Linked DNA regions of Homo sapiens: regions 1, 2, 3, 4, 6 and 7 are each linked to region 5. Evidence: promoter capture Hi-C in 16 types of primary human blood cells and fetal thymus (Javierre and others, 2016). All regions are on one chromosome and are shown on one strand. Each heading gives the region's core, a stretch centred on a gene start or on the middle of the fragment in contact. The rest is flanking DNA. Distances are from core to core; before and after follow the strand shown.

What was found. The method cuts DNA at HindIII sites, captures the fragments that hold promoters and counts their contacts. A CHiCAGO score of 5 or more calls a contact.
Region 1: a contact is called between a fragment that was not itself captured here and the fragment with the promoter of CHRM3-AS1 in region 5, in 3 of 17 cell types (non-activated CD4 T cells, M0 macrophages and total CD4 T cells). The highest score is 5.6, in non-activated CD4 T cells.
Region 2: a contact is called between a fragment that was not itself captured here and the fragment with the promoter of CHRM3-AS1 in region 5, in 8 of 17 cell types (non-activated CD4 T cells, activated CD4 T cells, total CD4 T cells and 5 more). The highest score is 9.9, in non-activated CD4 T cells.
Region 3: a fragment that was not itself captured here is called in contact with the fragment with the promoter of CHRM3-AS1 in region 5 in 1 of 17 cell types (M1 macrophages); the score reaches 5.2 in M1 macrophages.
Region 4: a contact is called between a fragment that was not itself captured here and the fragment with the promoter of CHRM3-AS1 in region 5, in 3 of 17 cell types (non-activated CD4 T cells, activated CD4 T cells and monocytes). The highest score is 6.6, in non-activated CD4 T cells.
Region 6: a fragment that was not itself captured here is called in contact with the fragment with the promoter of CHRM3-AS1 in region 5 in 12 of 17 cell types (activated CD4 T cells, non-activated CD4 T cells, total CD4 T cells and 9 more); the score reaches 16.2 in activated CD4 T cells.
Region 7: a fragment that was not itself captured here is called in contact with the fragment with the promoter of CHRM3-AS1 in region 5 in 16 of 17 cell types (activated CD4 T cells, total CD4 T cells, naive CD8 T cells and 13 more); the score reaches 57.9 in activated CD4 T cells.

Annotation. Positions count from the first base shown.
Region 1 is chr1:239,460,508-239,463,207 of GRCh38, reverse strand. The region is part of intron 1 of CHRM3 (cholinergic receptor muscarinic 3); the gene reads right to left. Among named protein-coding and RNA genes, the nearest start is that of CHRM3, 75 kb to the right of the region's middle. The HindIII fragment of the contact is 6,491 bases long and covers 1-2,700 here.
Region 2 is chr1:239,441,964-239,444,663 of GRCh38, reverse strand. The region is part of intron 1 of CHRM3 (cholinergic receptor muscarinic 3); the gene reads right to left. Among named protein-coding and RNA genes, the nearest start is that of CHRM3, 57 kb to the right of the region's middle. The HindIII fragment of the contact is 269 bases long and covers 1,297-1,565 here.
Region 3 is chr1:239,545,974-239,548,673 of GRCh38, reverse strand. The region is part of intron 3 of CHRM3 (cholinergic receptor muscarinic 3); the gene reads right to left. Among named protein-coding and RNA genes, the nearest start is that of CHRM3, 160 kb to the right of the region's middle. The HindIII fragment of the contact is 2,513 bases long and covers 70-2,582 here.
Region 4 is chr1:239,481,837-239,484,536 of GRCh38, reverse strand. All of the region lies in intron 1 of CHRM3 (cholinergic receptor muscarinic 3), which reads right to left. Among named protein-coding and RNA genes, the nearest start is that of CHRM3, 97 kb to the right of the region's middle. The HindIII fragment of the contact is 1,532 bases long and covers 608-2,139 here.
Region 5 is chr1:239,898,543-239,901,242 of GRCh38, reverse strand. It overlaps CHRM3-AS1 (CHRM3 antisense RNA 1), which reads left to right and starts at 1,371. Exons shown (of 2, transcript NR_046582.1): 1 at 1,371-1,479. The region is part of intron 6 of CHRM3 (cholinergic receptor muscarinic 3); the gene reads right to left. The HindIII fragment of the contact is 7,774 bases long and covers 1-2,700 here.
Region 6 is chr1:239,423,806-239,426,505 of GRCh38, reverse strand. All of the region lies in intron 1 of CHRM3 (cholinergic receptor muscarinic 3), which reads right to left. Among named protein-coding and RNA genes, the nearest start is that of CHRM3, 39 kb to the right of the region's middle. The HindIII fragment of the contact is 302 bases long and covers 1,148-1,449 here.
Region 7 is chr1:239,406,083-239,408,782 of GRCh38, reverse strand. The region is part of intron 1 of CHRM3 (cholinergic receptor muscarinic 3); the gene reads right to left. Among named protein-coding and RNA genes, the nearest start is that of CHRM3, 21 kb to the right of the region's middle. The HindIII fragment of the contact is 7,375 bases long and covers 1-2,700 here.

The DNA.
Region 1 (2,700 bases), core at 71-2,570, 440 kb after region 5:
ATTTATTCATGTATTCACTCTATCTGTATCTATAATATGCCAAACTCTGTGCTAGCTGCTTACTATTATTCATCTCATCCTCAAAACCATTATAAGGAGGTGTGACTATTCCTCACTTTGTTATCTGTGTTGTTCAATCGATTAGTTAGTTATACACAGTCTGGTTTAATATAAAAATGTAGCCATGCATTTTAGCTACATAAAGTAAACTGCCTTTTCTAGAAATTAGGGCTTATAAATTCTTCCCCCTCATATATTTGCTGACTGGTGATCAGAGAATTAATTCTGTCCAGTTGAACTAGGAGTTATATAACAACAAATGTCCGAAATTGATTCTCTAAAATGTCTGCACTAACAGTGTAAGTGTACTTCCCACTATGGAATTTTAAAACTGTGTGCTAATATAATGTGAAGCATCAAGGAAAAAGCTGCAGAAACAGTTGTTAAGTAAACTTGAGCTAGGACGCTAAAATCTCACAAAATTACCTGTAGCTTCAAACATGCTGTATGTACAAAAAGTAAATCTAAGACTTTATTTTACAAATTCTAAAGTTATCTCTTTTATAGTATTTGTAGGTAATTTGATATTAATCATCATTTTGATAACCTAATCTACCAGAAAAGTTAACTTCTAGTCAAATTATTTTTACACGTACCCTGCAGGCAGCTGTAAAAGTGTGAAGGTACAAATTGAAATTCTGTTTTTTACATCCCTGGGATGCATTATATTATAAAAACAAAACAGAAAAGTATTTATGTTCTGGCAGAAGAACAACAATATGAAAAATTTTTTTTTCCTTTTGAGCATTAAGATTCAGAATCATGACTTTTGAAACATACTATCAACTTTGGATAACAAAAACTGGTTCTCGTGGATATGACTAACCTGGTATAACCCAGGGACATTTTCTACTTGCTCCCAAATTTATATAATGAAAAGGAAAATACTTCTGTTCAAATAAAACTGCTTGTGGAATAATAAAATGAATGTATCCTCAGTTTTCAAATTTAGTAAATATCTCCAAATCACCGAAATTCTCACTTTAAGCAAACTCAGCACTTAGACATTTTATGTTTCAGAGAAAAAGATAAAAAATTACAATTATGTAACATTTAAATGAATGCAGGAAACAGAAACTCAGCCCATGAGTAAATTAAAGATAATTTTTTAGAAATAGTATTTATATCCAGCTGAGAGAAGCGGTATTACCCAAGGGTGGAGAGGCCAGAGGACAGGGCCATTGGACGGTCATTTTTTCCTGTCACTTCATTTATTTGCTTTTGAAAGTGGGAGAGAATTGAGAATGCTGAGGGGAAAGAGAGCTAGTCAGAAGGGAGATGATGAAGGAAAGGAGGGCAGAATGTAACCAACCAACATGTCCCCAGAGGAGACAGGAGGAGATGGAATATGCTGACGTCCTGATGTCCACGTTCCTCGGTGGTGAGGAACAGGTAGAAAAATGGGGATAGAAGATGACATTAGAAATCTCCAGGGAGAAAGGGCCCATGTTTGCATTTGCTGGGTCAAATTACATTGCAAATCAACCAGAGAGACCACCAGGGAGCTCATCCTGTCAAGAGAATGATAATTTTTTTTTCTTTGCGTATATGGAGGCACGCACATAAGCACATTAAGATTTGCTTGTACAGAATCTGTGTTAAACATACACATAACAGAAGGAAGATACACGTAAAGGAGCCATAAAGGAAAGTAGAAAGAAAGCCAGTCACCAGTTGTCCCACAATGTAATTTGAATAAATAAATAAATAGAATCAGCTTTTGCAAATTTTGTCATCTTTAAATTATTTCCCCCTGAGCTAGCTTGAGATTCAAACACCCCATCTTCTATGTATATTGACCAAAAACTGCAGCAGTTGATATCTACTCTCAGAAGGATTCATATATGATTTCTAAGTTATAATGCCTTCATTATACTATAAAGGGGAAAAAGCGCATTTAATTTTAAATATAATCTTGATCAGAACCTATAACCCATATAAATCTCTCCTTATTCATTGGCACATGATATCTAGACTTGAAGCATTTGTCAGAAAATATAGCCTTGAACTTTCTTCTCCAAATCCACTAAATCTCATTCTTGAATCAAGCCAAAATAATGAGCTGCATACATGGACCCCGTCATGTTGGCTCTTAGAAGAACTGCTTTGTTGTATTTTTCTTGAATATTAGGCTATAGATCCCAATGGAGGCCATTTTAAGAAAGTCCAGTGAATTTCACTTTTGTGTTTGCTGTATTGCAGATGATACTCATTACTTCACACAATGTCTCTTTATGAGGAACTATGGAAGTTTCTCTCTGAAGCATAGGAATCACTATACATTTGTCTAAGAATCTTTCCTAACCTGAAGAACACTACATTTTATTTTGTATTTTCATTTTTTTGTGTTGATCACTGAAAGACTATAATTTCATTTGTTTCCCACCACTTCTAAGTATACATGAAAATTGATAGTGTTAACTCATTGTTAGCTTCTGCTAATTTTTATATCATTATTTCCCTTATCTACTTTAATCTTACCGTGTTGTACTTTATGTCATTTTGAAAATCACCTTAAATTATCTTTGGAAGAAGGTGTGTAGATTTTTTTAATTGACAGGAATTATAGTGGGTTAAGGAATAATGTCTTCCTTAGATACAAGGATGAATAATATAGAAAGAGGAGAATTGCTCAAAGCA
Region 2 (2,700 bases), core at 182-2,681, 460 kb after region 5:
ACTGACCTAATATAATTCTGATTGTATCATCTAGTGGATTTCCACATTCCCCTCCCCAGGTTCCCTTCCAGTCTTATACCTTCCTTTGAATTCATCATACTTGACTTCTCTCCTTGACAAAGTCCTATTCACCCCTCAGGTCCCAGCTCACCAGGCAGGGCCTCAAATGGTCTCTCTTATTCCCTCCAGCACAAATTAATTGCTTCCTCTTTAATAAATCCCTAGTATTGTATATACTCCTCCATTCAAAACATTCTTTTTATTACAGTTGTGTATGAAATGTCTGCTTCTCCTACTATATTGTAAAATGTGTTGTTTATCTTTGTGTGACCTATGGTAACTCAGTAGAATATGTGTGTTCTTTAACACTTTAAGATCTTATTGTACAAGAGGAAGCAACTTAAAATATATGGAGACAGTTAAAATAGAATAGGATGGACTTTTGTATTTTGTCTGGTGCAGACTAATTCCGTGACTCCTGAACAAAGACCCACAGCCAGCCTCGGGCGTTTTCCTCATGACTAAGGCAGGGTCCTTAAAACGAAGCTGAGAGATTCTTGAAAGGCCCAGAGATGGCACACAACATGCTGAGCCTGGTGCCTGACTCCCAGTACTCAAAAATTGTGACTGCAATTACTAAGAGCAGACACCTCACAGCCTACTTTTTTGGTAAGCATTAAGACAATAAATATAGATGGATTTTGAAAACTATAAAATCTGAAACACATATTTCACACAAAAGAGCCAAAGTAAAATAATTGGGTGAAGGAAGACTCCAATGTGGATTTCAATTCTCTTCTACTGTTTCTCCAATTTTCTCTGATGAGTGAAGTTTCACTCAACTAATTTTGGATATATCTACCCTTCAAGGAGTTAAAATATTATACTGACTAATGCTAAAATGAAGAAAAGTATTTCTCTTAAGATTTTCTTCTCCTAAGCGTTTATATTATACCGACTAATGCTAAAAGAAGAAAAGTATTTCCCTTAAGATTTTCTTTTCCTAAGCGTTTCTTCAGATTCTTCATTAAAGTAAGCACTTTCCAACAAAATAGTCTGGATTTATTATTTCCAGCTTTCCATGTCACAGGCACCTTAAACAGCCGGAAAAATCTTATCCTAGCAGCAGTTTTTCTTCACAGACACTTTGATGTGATCTCTGCAGTTTCAACTTCATTTGTGCTTACATAAATGGAGGTTACTGGAAGTTTTTTTTTCTAGATTTGATGTTCTCATAATTATTTATTTAGAGAAATTGATATCAATTTTGCATTCGTGACATTACAAAGAGAAGCTTCCCTTCGCAAACAGTAGGAAACTTGAATAGGAAATTCTCATTTTAATACCATATCAGGAGACTCTATGACGAAAGACAAATTATACAATCATCAGATTATTCCTCAAACACACAACTGCCCATAAATGACTTTCATCCTCTGTGAACACCAAAAACTGTAATCACACATGAGCAAAGACAAATATTGTAAATTCACTTCAAATATTTTTATGTGAGAACAATTACCTCAGACTTTTGTAATTCACTATTAAATGAAATAAAATAAGCTTTGTTATCTCACTATAAATTAAATACATAAAACCATCAAGCAGTAATAAATACATGGCACAGCCAAATAAAAACGTTAAGGATAGGTGGCTCTATTAAATTAAAATTGGTATTTTATCCTTATTTGTCAGTCCATTTATTAAGACGTCAGACTTGATTAAACTACAGTCATTGTTCCTTCTACCCCATAACACAAGGGCTCGCGCACAGGAACAACTAATGTATCCACTGCCAGACAGAGAAATTCACTCCACACGGAGAATTCACCAGAAAAGACGCTACTTGAGCTCCTAGTGTGAAATGAGCATTTTGTTTCTCCTCTTGTATCTGTTGACTGTGTGAAAATGCTTGAGTATCTGCCACTTCTGGGTCCCTTGTAAACTCAAAATAAGACCTGGGTCATCAGATTAATCAACTTTTAAAAATTCCCTGCTTATATTTTTCTCTTCTCCAGTCAGAACAAAATAGTGAAAATACGCACTCTCAGAACAACCTCAAAGAGTCTGATCCAAATTCCCCACTTACGCTTGAAATTCCCATGGGCAGGATAAAGAAATATCACTGCTTCTGGCCTCACACACTGGCTTCCAGAGACAGTTCACATCTTTCACCCTGAAAATTTTTAAACTCTTAAAGAAAAAAAAAAAAGGGTTTTCTCTACCTATGCATGCATCAAGAACTAACATGTATTTTGGCCGGGTGCAGCGGCTCACGCCTGTAATCCTAACATTTTGGGAGGCTGAGACGGGTGGATTGCCTGAGCTCAGGGGTTCAAGACCAGCCTGGCCAACCTGGTAAAACCCCATCTCTACTAAAATACAAAAAATCAGCTGGGCGTGGTGACAGGTGCCTGTAATCCCAGCTACTCAGGAGGCTGAGGCACAAGAATTGCTTGAACCCAGGAAGCAGAGGCTGCAGTGAGCCGAGAATTAAAACTATCTCAAAAAAAAAAACCTAACGTATATTTAAACTGTCTTTAATGACAAACAATATTAGACAACCTCCTGACGCTGAACCCTGCTGTGGAACTGAAGCATTTGAGAAGAGATACATATTATGTACATTTTGAAAATTAGTATGTGGTCTATCTCCTTTCTAGGTATAAATGAAAATCAAATAATACTGAATGCTTAAAA
Region 3 (2,700 bases), core at 77-2,576, 350 kb after region 5:
GTACCCATGTCCATAGCATGTAGATTCTTACCAAGAAATGCACCCTCAAAGCCTTTATGCCCAAAAGCTTCCCCCATAACCACTACTGTCCTCATCAGGGGAAAAATCTATAAAGGCTGAAGAAGCTATTGCAAAAATAAACAAGAAGAAGAATAAATGGGTGTGTGCAAAGCAGTCAAAGATAACATTTTAATCTGAATTATAAGCAAGTCAGATAAGTCAGATTAAATTTATATGTGAAAGACTTTCTGCATACAGAGATGGACAGAGTTGGACAAACCAAACGCTGTCATTGTTTTAGATGGTTTATAAGGAAGAAGTGAGGGAATAAGACTTGGCTTTCTGGTCTGAGTGATACATGTCAGCCCAGCAACTGGCTCAACTAGAGAGATGGACATAAAACATGGGCTCATGCTCTTGACTCTAAATATTGCCCCAAGTTATCAGTACTTTCCACCTTGGGAACAAATTATGACTCATTTGGAAAATGTCACCCACTAAAACCACTGAATTTTGTCCAGTGTAAGCTCAAAGGACAATATCTTAAGTTGATTCATAATAAAAACAAGCGTACGTCTGATATAGAACTCATGATTATGAAAGTGAAAGTTCAAGCCCTTACTCCCCATCACTTTGTGAAACATTTTCTACATTTATACCTCCTTTCTTTTTTGCTCTCTTTCTCTCCTGAAAAAAAAAAGTCATTTTAAACATGGTGACAGTCCAAAATTCAAAATAAATTAAACATTCATTTGATATTCCTTGATCGGCCTAATAAACCACTTTTTTTTGTCATTTCAGTATTCCATACTCAAGCTATGTTTGCATTTTGTTGTTTAAGTATTTGTTAATCATTTTTGAAATTCTGAATCTAACAAAATAAATCAATAATTGAGCACATTTATGAAAGTCCTTTAAATATAACACGTGGCAAGGACATTTTCAAATTCAGAAGTTCTCTCATTTACATTATTTTAAAATCATACTATACAATGATTTGTGATTATATCTTTACAATGCCTGACAAAGGGGATAGCTGCCATTCCTTGTGTGGATGCTGTGTTAAGCCATCTGAACAAAGGCAGTATGGACTATATCATAATCATTTCCCTTTTATTTCTCAGAAACTGAGGTTTTTGAAAACTTCACAATTAATAAATGACTTTGAACCCAGGGCTTTCTGATTCTAAAATCTGTGCTCATCAGGATAATCCCACACTCCCCAGGGAACTGACTGATAACTTAGTAAGTGTCACACTGCTCCCAAACACTCGTCCATATTAACTCATGTAATCCATACAACAAGCCTATGCAATCAGATAGATCTCTTTTTATTAGTCTCATTCTACAAATGTGCAAACTAAAGCACAGAGAAATTAAATGACTTGTCCAACTTTGCAAAACTACAAAATGGTGGAACTGGGTTGCAACCTCAGGCAGTCTGACTATAGATCCTGCATACTTCAGCACTATGCTACAATATTAGCCAGTGAATATGTTACCTGTTATTAAGATTTTCGTTCCATTTATATGCAAAAATTTTATTCATGTAACAGACCACTGCCCTCCTAGTGAAAATCATATCTAATTTCCGGAATTAGAATTTGCAAACCAGTTTCATTGCATAAGCCTGGTTATATAACTTGTTTAAATTTAGTGGAAAAGTCTTTCTCAATATTACTGAATGTATTTGTTAAGATTACATTTTCAGTTGTTCATTTTAAACAAGCTAGCTGTATTCTCCTAGCTAAAGAGAATGGTCATAGAAGATGTTAAAATGATTTCAGTTAACAGATGTATTAAATACTATATTTAAATAATATTTACAATCTCACCAAATTCCTACATTGTTTCCTTAGTATCTTGAAACTAAAGTACACATAAGAAGTATCTAATATATCTTTCTCCTTCATGTGTAAAAACCTAATAGACAAAATCTAATAAGAGTAAACACGATGGAGAGAAGCAGCAGCAGAAATTCCTTATGGTTGGTGGGGATTGGTGTGTGCATGGGTGTGTGAGAAACATGTGTTTCCTCATATATCATTTAAACATAATTTTCTCAAATATACCAAAAATTAATTTGGGTCATAAATTAAAATTAATGAGGATTTTATCATTTATCTCTTAGGCAAGTAGCATATAAAATAGTAGACTGCATTAATTAATTGGAAGAGACAATTATGGTCACAACTTTTTCCAGCTCTCTACTTGTGCTGTTAGTTGACCACAGACAACACCATTTATTTTTACAGAGTTTGAGAGTTAGCTAATAATTTCACATCCGTTACCTCTGTTGACCTTCAAAGGAAATCTTATGAACTAGGTAAAGCAGAAACGATTCCTTTCACTTTTCAAATGAAGAAACTGAGGCCTAGAGATTAGGGGACTAGTATGAGGATAAATGCTGGAGCTGAAATGAAATTAACATCTTCTGACTGAGTTTAATTTTCTTTCCACAACACCGTAAATATCATACACCAACTGTTAATATGGTGCATCTGTGAGTGGAAGCACATCAAATACCCTGTATAATAAAATTAAACTGTTGCAAAGCATAAACTCGGTAAAAAGTTTAAGCTTACATTGGCACCAGATCTATATGATATTGACCAGAAGACATCGAAACTGTCCAGTGACGTTTCTTAATTCAGTTAAAAAAGAGGGAAGATGCTATACTTCTAAATTCTGCCTATATAG
Region 4 (2,700 bases), core at 124-2,623, 420 kb after region 5:
ATAACAGTGTTCTACACTGTTGGAGTTATATCCTGGTGATGTGGTTTGGATATTTTTCCCTCCAAATCTCATGTTCCAATGTAATTTCCAATGTTGGAGGTGGGGCCTGGTGGGAGGTACCTTATCCTGAGGGCAGTACCCTCATGAATGGCTTATCACCGTCCCCTTGGTGATGAGTAAATTCTCATTCAGTTAGTTCATGGAATACCTGGTTGTTTAAAAGAGTATGGCACCTCCTCTCTCTCTTGCTCCTGCTGTCACCAAGTGGTATGCCTGCTCTCGCTTCACCTTCCATCATGACTGTGAGCTTTCTCAGGCCCTCACCAGAAGCTGAGCAGATGGTGGTGCCATGCTTGTACAGCCTGCAGAACCGTGAACGATTAAACCTCTTTTCTTTATAAATTACTCAGTCTCAGGTATTCAATTATAGAAACACAAGAAAGAACGAATACATCCAGAAACATTTTAAAATAAAGATCTTTTGGAGATCTTGAGGAAAAATTTCAAAGCTGAAAAGACTACACACTTACTTCGTTAATAGCATTATGTTTTTCAACAAAGTCCATTGTGGTTAAATTACTGTTTTCCTTCCTGTACAAAATAAGCTTCCAAGAGAAAGGTAGCCAAATTCATAACTGTGCTAGAAGGAGACAACAATATCCTAGTTGTGTAAAATCCACACTTGCTGCAATATCAAATTGTCATTTTAGCCTATTTAAGGATACTCAGAAACAGGAGCGGTTTGCCAACAACCTGGTTAAGTAGATGGGGAAGAGTCATAATTTGTCTCTACTTTATTAACACCACTTTCTGTTTACTTAGACTCTGTCTCTGAGGTGCTCAAATAATTTTTCAGACAGTATCCAATTAATCTCTAGCTACGTAGGTGGCAGCATTTCAGATTAAATTATCTCTCAGTCACTTCCTCATTAAAAAAGAAAAAAAGATGTCAAGCATATGACAAAGCATCTTGTCAAAATGATTTCACAGTTGAAAAAGCCTTGCAGAAGAAGGGCAAACTACTTCTAGTTGCTCCTGCAAACCCTCTCTTTGGAGGGACAACCATCTTAGGCTCCTTGAGCTCAACCTTATAGGGAAGTCCAATAGTGAAGAGCCTCTTCCAGGACCGTACACAGGAAATGGAGAACCAAAACTGGGAATCCAAGAACAGCATGATTAGCTAATTTTACAGAAGCTACAGAAGAGCTGTTTGGAATTCCAATGAGAGCTTATGACAATGAGAGCTTCTTAACAGTCTTCTACTGGGACAACACTTCTGAACCTCATCTTAGTAAATCTTTAATATCTTCCTGTACAATGAAGGTTAGAATAATTAGAATGTAGAAAATGTAGAAAGAATGTGAAGTAATTTTTTCAAACACTTTATCAAGACTGTTAATTAGGCTATTTTAAACTAGTGTCCTCAAATTATCCCTTTTCCCCTTCATATTTATTTCAGATGGTGATGAACCCAAACCAAAAAGCAACTCTAAAGAGATCCATTTGATTCAAATAGTGTCTTTTACAAACTCGATTGTGAAATCAGAAGCGAATAGCACGGTGGCTTTCTAGTGCAGGAGGAGGGAGAGCAAAATGCTTTAGAAGTATAAGAATACAGTAAAATATTAAAGGCATATCAAAATTTCCGAGGCATTTAGTTTCATATAAACAAAGATGAAATACCATAAATTCTTATCATATTATTCATTCAATCATTTGACAAATATTTACTGACAGTCTACTAATTTCTAGCCACTAAGCTAGGTACCGGCCATAATGGATAAATATGAAAGATATGATACAAAACCATATGAAATTTACAGTCTAAGAAAGAACATAGACAAACCAGCCATTGCAATTCAGTGTAATGAGAGAATTCTACGGTTGAGAGCTAGGTAGGAGTAACCTAGGTATGGGAAGTCAGAGAAGGCTCCCTGGAGGCAGTGGTATATTAATAATCTGAGATACTAAGAGTGACTAGGGGTTAGGCCCGTGAACTGACAGTGAGGAGAAGAGTAGTGATGTGAGAGGTATTCTAGGCGTTAAGGTTATCTTGTTTTTGCTGATGAAAGAAACTATAGCTCAACCAGAATATTTGGCTTTCCAAACACAGTCCTGTGACTTTGCAGAGTAGAAGCTTGAAAACTCTTTTGGTTTCCAGTCTTGTGGGTGCTTTTCTCCCCTAAAGAGCCACAGTGTTTCCCATCACAGTCGCATGTCCACGTGGACAGAAGTTTCAAAAAAAAGTCATGCAGAAAAGAGACATGATATATTCAACAGAAGTGTGTGAAAATGCTTGTTCTAAGAGTAAGCAGAGTGGCTCATAAAAGCATGTGGGTGTCTCTGGGCTGTTACTGTCATACCCGAGGCAGGGGCAGAAGTGCCAGCAGAGGAGAGAAAGGAAAAAACTAAGAAGTTGAGCAAGAACATAGGTGAGGTGTCTGGGAGAATATAAAAGAAGAGAAAATGAAAAAAATAAGCCTTTGTAATAGAAAAAAGAATTGTCTTCGAAACATGCTTCCAAAAAAATATAAATAAAAAAGAAGAAGAACTTCTTGCTGGATTAATCTTCCTAAAGCTATGAAGCTATGTTATGTTTGAAGTTCACCTTGTTCAAAAGTTATCAATCACTTCCCTCCACTCCACAGTACAGCACCACTTACTTTACCAGTTCATTATTTCCCCCAAAAGATTCTATTA
Region 5 (2,700 bases), core at 122-2,621:
TGCCTTACACTCTGCTGTTGCTTTTAAATGCGGAGAAGGTTGGAGGAAAAAGAGGTCGCATCTGATAATATTGATCAGACTCAAAGAAGATGCGTGCCTCATGCCCTCCTGTCTGGTGCCCAGAGGTGGCAGCTGCTCAGAGGTCACTAGGTCACCATGGCAGAAGCACCGATGACCTGAATGCCTGTGGTAATGAATTCTTCCTTAGTCTTGCCTAAGACGTAAACTCAGCTGGGCGAACACCTTGATTTCAGTGTTGAGACCCTGAACAGGGAACCTTGTTGTAAGCTGCTAAGTTTGTGGTGATTTGCTATGCAGAATGGGGCCACAACAGGCAGCTTCGAGGCAAGTTATACAAAAATGAAATGACTGATCTTGCTCGCCTGAATACGATGGATTAAAAATATTATACACACTTTACATGTAAATGAGCAATGTATTGTCTCACACATAAGAAATCCTAGTTCTACTTGGGTTGTGGATTTTCTCCCCTCATTGCTGTAGGGGCCTTTCTTGCCTTCGTCCCTCCAAGGGAATATTCAGCACCTGCCATACCTCTTCTGAGCACACTGTCTTTTCTCGACAGCCCAGGTGAGGTACATTCCTGGTGCTCCCCAATCTATTCATATCAAGGCTGTACCCAGCTTTATCAAGGAAGACAATGTCCCTATAGGGCCAGGAAACAAGATCCCTCCCACCTTCTTTCAGACATTTTCTATGAACTTCTCCGAGGCCTTGGGGCCACGGCCTCATTAAAAGGACTGTTCTCTGGAGGCTCAGCAACGGAGGTCCTATCGGTACCCAGGATGACAACAGGAGAAAGTGATCAGCCGGTCATAAGGATTTCAAAAAAAAAAAAAAAAAAGAATATCTAAAAGTACTTATTAGAAATGAGAGTCACCAAATGTTTTACTTCAGGTATATCTATTATTTCATAGGTAATATGTAACTTCCTGAGAATCAAGACTGTAGGTCAGACCCAAATGAAGCAGTGATAACCCCGGGCTAAGAGCCCTCAGTTTACGGTGATTTTCTGAGTAGAAGGTATCATTCCTATGTTTAATATTCCTTCCTCATCCTGACTCAACAGCTATTCCATAGCATTAGGATATTTTGAGTCAAGGAAGTTCACAGTCTACACTCATTGAATTGAATGATATTGGTGAGGGGACCTACAGGAAGTCTTTCCTTGTAATGCTCAGGAATAAACAGGTGGTGGGAACAGAGATCCTTGTCAGCCCAGTGACCTTCGCACTTTATAAGTAATCCCAGGCAAGAGTTCTAGGAATGCAGCCTGCATGAGGGCTCAGGGCATGGTCAGATAGGGGCAGACCAGGGGCAGGTGCCTGGCTCCTCTCTGGGGTCAGAGCAGGCTCCCTCCCTGCCAGGTTGTGGGTGCAACATTCAGGGAATGGTTACTGAAGTGTTCCAGGCACCAGAGCTCAGGCAAGAAGTGGAAAACTGCGCAAGATCCTGCACGTGGGTACCATCAGTGCCTTTGTGGGGAAGTTACATCTGTGTGTATGTATATATACTTAGTATATATATACGATATACTTAGTGTACTTATATCGTGTATATATACTATGTACTTAGTATACTTACTTATATACAATGTACATATACTTAGTGTATATATACATTGCATGTTGAACTTACTATATATATACACACACACTACACACACACACTAATTGGTCCGCTAATTGGCTGTTGCATTTTGAACTTGGTATGTGTGTATATATACATGTGTGTGAGTATATATACACACATATATACGTATGTATATACATATCATATACATACATGTGTATAGATATGTGTGTATATATGTATATGTGTGTATATGTATATGTGTTTATATATGTATATATGTATTTATGTATATATACACACACACTAAATTCAATAGATATATATGCGTGTGTGTATATACACACACACACACACACACACACACACACACTGAGTTCAAAATGCAAGAGCCAATTAGTGGGCCAATATGAGAATTAAAAAAGAAAAAAATGTACAGCAAATTGAATAGGACGTATCAGAATGCATACCACATAATGACAATCAATATCACTTCATTAAATTTTTGCTCGACATACACACACGTATAAAATTATGTCTATAGTCATGATGTACGTACAATGTATTTTGTGTTGAATAATGTTGGAAAGCCACTGCAGTGGATATTTTGACATCTTTTATTAATATTTAAAAGAAGAGGGTGAAACAAAAAATGTGAAAAAAGACAAAAAAGTTTGACAGTACTGAATTTAGGAGAAATTGAAGGTTAGTTCTAGGAAATTTGCCTTCTTCCCCCTAGTTATGGCAAAAAATAACTTTTCTGGGGTTATAAGTCTGTGAAATATATAGGTAAATTTAAAAAATTTAAAAATGTGTAAATATCCAGTGTGAAATACATGTGAGATTGCTTACAGAAACGGACAAGGCCAATATACATGTGAGGCTTCTGGTTATAATGAATTCCAAGGAGATAAACTCATTTCATGTCCTCTGAGCCAACCGGGCAGTACCTACTTGGGAAAAATGTTTGAGGGCTCTCGATTTTTAAACCTGCTGAACCAATTAAAAGCGTATAAATTTTTCTAGAAGTCTAAATTAATTCTACGTCTATAATAATAATTATTTTTTTAAGTGATGATATGGGAAAAACCCAAAATATCTTTGCAA
Region 6 (2,700 bases), core at 49-2,548, 470 kb after region 5:
TGGTTTGGATTTTTTCTTTCTTTTTTTTTTTTTTTTTGCGGGGTGAGTTCGAAGCAATGGCGTGCTAGAAAGTCATTCATGACTGGCTTCCCAGAGGAAAACGTCAAAGCCTTGATTTGTAGCATTTGCCAATTTCCATGGTGAAAAATACTCCCAACATTGCCAATTTCAAGCTACTAAAGTAAATCATTGAGTTAGGAGCTAGAAAAAGCTGTGAATCGCCACACTGACTTCCACAATGGTTGAACTAGTTTACAGTCCCACGAACAGTGTAAAAGTGTTCCTATTTCTCCACATCCTCTCCAGCACCTGTTGTTTCCTGACTTACCGGGCCTGTTGTGGGGTGGGGGGAGGGGGGAGGGGGGAGGGGGGAGGGATAGCATTAGGAGATATACCTAATGTTAAATGACGAGTTAATGGGTGCAGCACACCAACATGGCACGTGTATACATATGTAACTAACCTGCACGTTGTGCACATGTACCCTAAAATTTAAGCACAATAAAAAATAAAAATAAAAAAATAGCCTTACTGGAAAAAAAAGATGTGAACAACTGGCTCTCCTGAGCTGGTATGAGCTGGCTTCAGCAGAACACTGAACGGCTTTTATAAGAGACCCATATGTCACAGGGAAGGTTAGGTTAACTAAATTACCAGAGATTTCTGAAACGACACAATGACAAGGAATGGAGCGTTTTACAATTCTACATGAAAAATAAATCATTTATCAAAACTAGTAATAATAAAGAAATCCAGGGGCATCATCAGAACCTGATGATCATTTAGAGATAATTTAATTCTGTTTTGTGAAGTTTCCTGCCTGTGTATTCTTTAATTTAGTTTCGCTCAGTGAAACAATCGTTTACCACGTGCCTTTATTTTGTGGGTCTCTGGTTAAGTGAGGAACCAAGTGTCAAAAGGAAGTTGTTGATTTAACACCTACAGATGAAGTCAAATAACTTAATGCATGAGTGTTGTGCCGTTTCAAATGGGGAAAGGATGAGTGAAGGCTGCTTATGCATAACTGGGAAGACCAGTGAAGGGCTCTTGGAAGAAGTTTTTTTTTTTACTTTGGTAAGAAAAGCTAGGATAAATTAAGACAGAAGAAAGGAAAATTGAGATTTGCAGGAGTACTTGATATAAAGCTTGGCACATAGTAGGACCTCAGTAAATACCGAGTGAATGAATGAGTGATTCAATGAATAAATGATTGAGTGAGTAAATGAATTAAAGGGAAAACGCAGGTAAAGGAAGAGATGTCAATGAGCATAGGTATTGGGTTTGATCTATGTGGCCCAACAGACTGAGTCCTGCACTGCTTAACCCCAATATTTCCTATTCAATGTTAATTCTTATCACTGCTAAATCACTTGTAGTGAAGTTGTCATTTTTTGTGTGAACCACTGTGTCCATCTTCTCTGTTTCTGTCACTACACTTGCATCCAAGCTTCTATCATCTCTCAACTGCATGGTTGCAGAAGCCTGTCAATCACTCCGCCAGAATCCACTCTGGCTGTGCCCCCATGCATTACCCACTCTGCACCCAGCATGAGCTTTGCAAAATGCCAATGGGAACATTTGATGATTGCTGAACCCCTACACCAGTCTTTAGGACTTAGGGTTGCTCAATGGTTTGGATTATTCTTACAAGAAAGTCAGCACTCCTGGATGTGGCTTAAAGAGCCCTACATGATCTGACCCCTACTTGCTTCTTCAGCCTAACATCCCAGCACTGTACCCCTCCATCCCCACAGCCTTCTTTTAGGCCATTGAGTGGAGTCTGTACACACTACTTCTTTTCACAGAAATGCTCTCCACTAATTTCACATATATTCTGTCTTCTGTGACCAAGTCAGACTGTCTCAGAGCACCATAGCCCTCTCTTTTGTAGAATTTATCAGTTACAAATGTGTATTTACTGTTATATTTGATGAAAGTTGATTTCTCCCACTAGTTTGTAAGTCCCAGAGGAAGAAGCTACATCTGCTTTTACTCAAGTGTTTGGCACATTCAAGTGTTTGTTGAATGAATGAACAAAATGTCATGTCCATTTCAGTTTCCACAAGGTTGTTCCCATTCCTGAGGTGACCTCACACCCTCCCACCCCCACCACAAATGCAGATCTAATATTAATTTCCAAGCCTAGCTCAAAACCCATTATTTAATTCAATAAATATTCATTAATGAATGATTATGTTCTAGACCCTGTGTTTGGGACAAGGATTACACGGCCACATAGAATCTTAGCAGCTCCCTGAGGAATGCCTGTTCTACCCAGGAGGATACACCACTCATTGCCGTGTCGTATGTTAGGAGCACTAACAGATGTGTGGCCGAAATCTATGGAAGCACATTGCGCAACTAAAAGAATAGCCTCTGGATATTCAATAAAGCTCCACAAAGAAAGAGGCATTTGGCTTGACTTTTTTTTTTCTTTTTTTTTTTTTTTTTGAGACAGAGTCTCGCTCTGTTGCCCAGGCTGGAGTGCAGTGGCGCAATCTCGGCTCACTGCAAGCTCCACCTCCTGGGTTCACGCCATTCTCCTGCCTCAGCCTCCCGAGTAGCTGGGACTACAAGTGCCCGCCACCATGCCTGGCTAATTTTTTGTATTTCAAGTAGAGATGGGGTTTCACCGTGTTAGCCAGGATGGTCTCGATCTCCTGACCTCGTGATCCACCCGCCTCGGCCCCACAAAGTGCT
Region 7 (2,700 bases), core at 132-2,631, 490 kb after region 5:
AGCCACGCTGTTGTGCACCTGTAGTCCCAACTACTTGGGAGTCTGAGCGGTCAGGCTGCACTGAGCCGTGATTGTGCCACTTTACTCCAGCCTGGGCAGCAGATTGAGACCCCATCTATTAAAGAAATAATTTTTTAAAAGAGCATCCTGGGCCAACATAGTCTTGATTGCTGTATTAGTCCGTTCTCACGCTGCTATAAGGACATACCCAAGACTGGGTAATTTATAAAGGAGAGAGTTTTTTTTTTTTTTTTTTTTTTTGACGGAGTCTCTCTCTGTTGCCCAGGCTGGAGTGCAGTGGCGCCATCTTGGCTCACTGCAAGCTCCGCCTCCCGGGTTCACGCTATTCTCCTGCCTCAGCCTTCCCAGCAGCTGGGACTAAAGGCGCCCGCCACCATGCCCGGCTAATTCTTTTGTATTTTTTTAGTAGAGACGGGGTTTCACCGTGTTAGCTAGGATGGTCTCGATCTCCAAGGAGAGAGGTTTAATTGACTCACAATTCCAAAGGGTTGAGGAGGCCTCAGGAAACTTACAATTATGGCATAAGGGGATTGCAAATACGTCTGTCCTCACACGGCAGCAGCAAGGAGACGTGCAGAATGAAGTCGGGGAAAGCCGCTTAAAAAACCATCAGATCTCGTGAGAACTCACTCACTATTACGAGAACAGCATGGAGGTAACCACCCCCATGAGTCAGTTACCTCCCACCAGGTCCCTCTCACCACACATGGGGATTATGGGAAATATAGTTCAAGATGAGATTTGAGTGGAGACACAGGCAAACCATATCAATTGCCTATCACATTTTACATAGTGGTACCTTGTAGGTACTCAGTTGCAGATTTCCTAAGGTATGCTTTAGAATTCCAAATTCAGAAAAGCCCTTCTCCATCTTCCTCTTCCACTTTATGGTCATAAGGAATTTCTTTACTTCCTTTTTAATGTATATGCTCATAATTAAGTCAATGAGCATTTACATTAATTTTTTTTAATTAGAAACTAACAAGTTGGTTCTCTCTCATCTACTTCTAATAGAAAAATAACATTAATGGAAACAAAGCTGGGCATATTCATGGAAATCTGATCGAATGTGCTAATTTAGTTCATTGTTCTTCAGGTGTACCACGCTATAATTTATTGTGAGTGACAGCATTAATGGTGATTTCAATATAAATATGCAAAAGAAAAAGCCCTGGAGGGAAATAATATAAGGGTGGGTTTGTCAGTTTTCCTTTCTGCAATAAGAAAAATAAAAGTGGGATTGAGCATTCATTCTGCTAGCATATATTAAGAGCCCACCCTCCTGAGACAGATAGCGTTCTAGAAACTGGAAATTTAGCGCTCTCTCTCTCTCTCTCTCTCTCTATATATATATATTTATAGTCATTGGTCTCATAGAGCTCATATTGTAGTGGGCGTTAACAGACAGTGAGTGAAAAAATAAATATATATTTTGTCAGGCAGTGACAGATGCTATGAAGAAAAGGACAGCAGATTCAGAAGATGGTGAATGATGAAAGTGACGCATGCCACTTAGAGGAAGTGATCACAAAACGCAGCCTGATCGGATGGCATTTGAGGACAGCTCTAACAGAAGTGAAAAAGCAAGCTATATAGACTTCTGGAAAAAGATCATTTCAAACAGATATAATAGTAAGTGTAAAGGCTCTGAGGCAGAAAGTTCTTGATAGAGACAACAACAAAAAAAGAAAACAGCAGGAAGTTTTTCACTTGTAAGGTTAGTTTTGCCTGGATCTTCTTCTCTATTTAGACCTTACTGGTCCTTTAAAGTATCTCTCAAGTGAAATCCCTTAAAAGAAGAAATGCCTGGTATCTCTCCAAAAAGATTTGGCTTCTTCACCCTCTGATTCCCAAGAACAACTTGGCTCAGACAACTCTATTTTACAAGTTAACATATTTGTAGATTATAAACACACATCTAGGGTCAAGACTTTGCTACACAATTTTTTTATCCCCTCCTGAACCTAGCTGCCTTATAATGATCTTGGCCAAGCTACCTTGGAAGTCAATAAAAGCATCTGTAATTGAGAGAGGCTTTGCAGAAATGTAAAGGGTCAGTGGGCATTACTTCTTTATAGCTTAGTCTGGTTTGGACTTGGAAAACATACAATATGGCACCCTGACCCTGAGTCTTCCAAAAGACTTACTGAGTTAGTTATTTCTTTGCTGGAATGAGGATGGGCTACTCAGTAGTGGGGTTTGGGCCAGCTTTCGCTTCAGTAATGGCGATGTTAATGGTGATGTTAATCTTGTTCTGTGCATGTGACTTGTTGGATTTAACTTTGGTTCATAGTTCATTTTCTTTGGACTCCTATAGCTGATGGTGGATCAAGGGAAGGAGTCAGGCTGAGAGTATCAAATTTCTTTGTTTCTTCTGTCATCACTGGAAAATAAAGCGTTTGTTTCTCGCATATTTGAAAAAACTGCATACTTCCTGGAGCCACCAGGGCATTCATCTCTATCTCATTTTGCAAAGCCTATTTGAACTTTTTCACATAAACAGAACACTAGTCAAAATACCAAGGGAGTCTCTGTTAATTTACAAAATACATGTGACCTTCAAAAGAACTTCAGCCAGGCACGGTGGCTCACGCCTGTAATCCCAGCACTTTGGGAGGCCTAGGCGAGTAGATCATGAGGTCAGGAGTTCGAGATCAGCCTGGCCAACATGGTGAAACC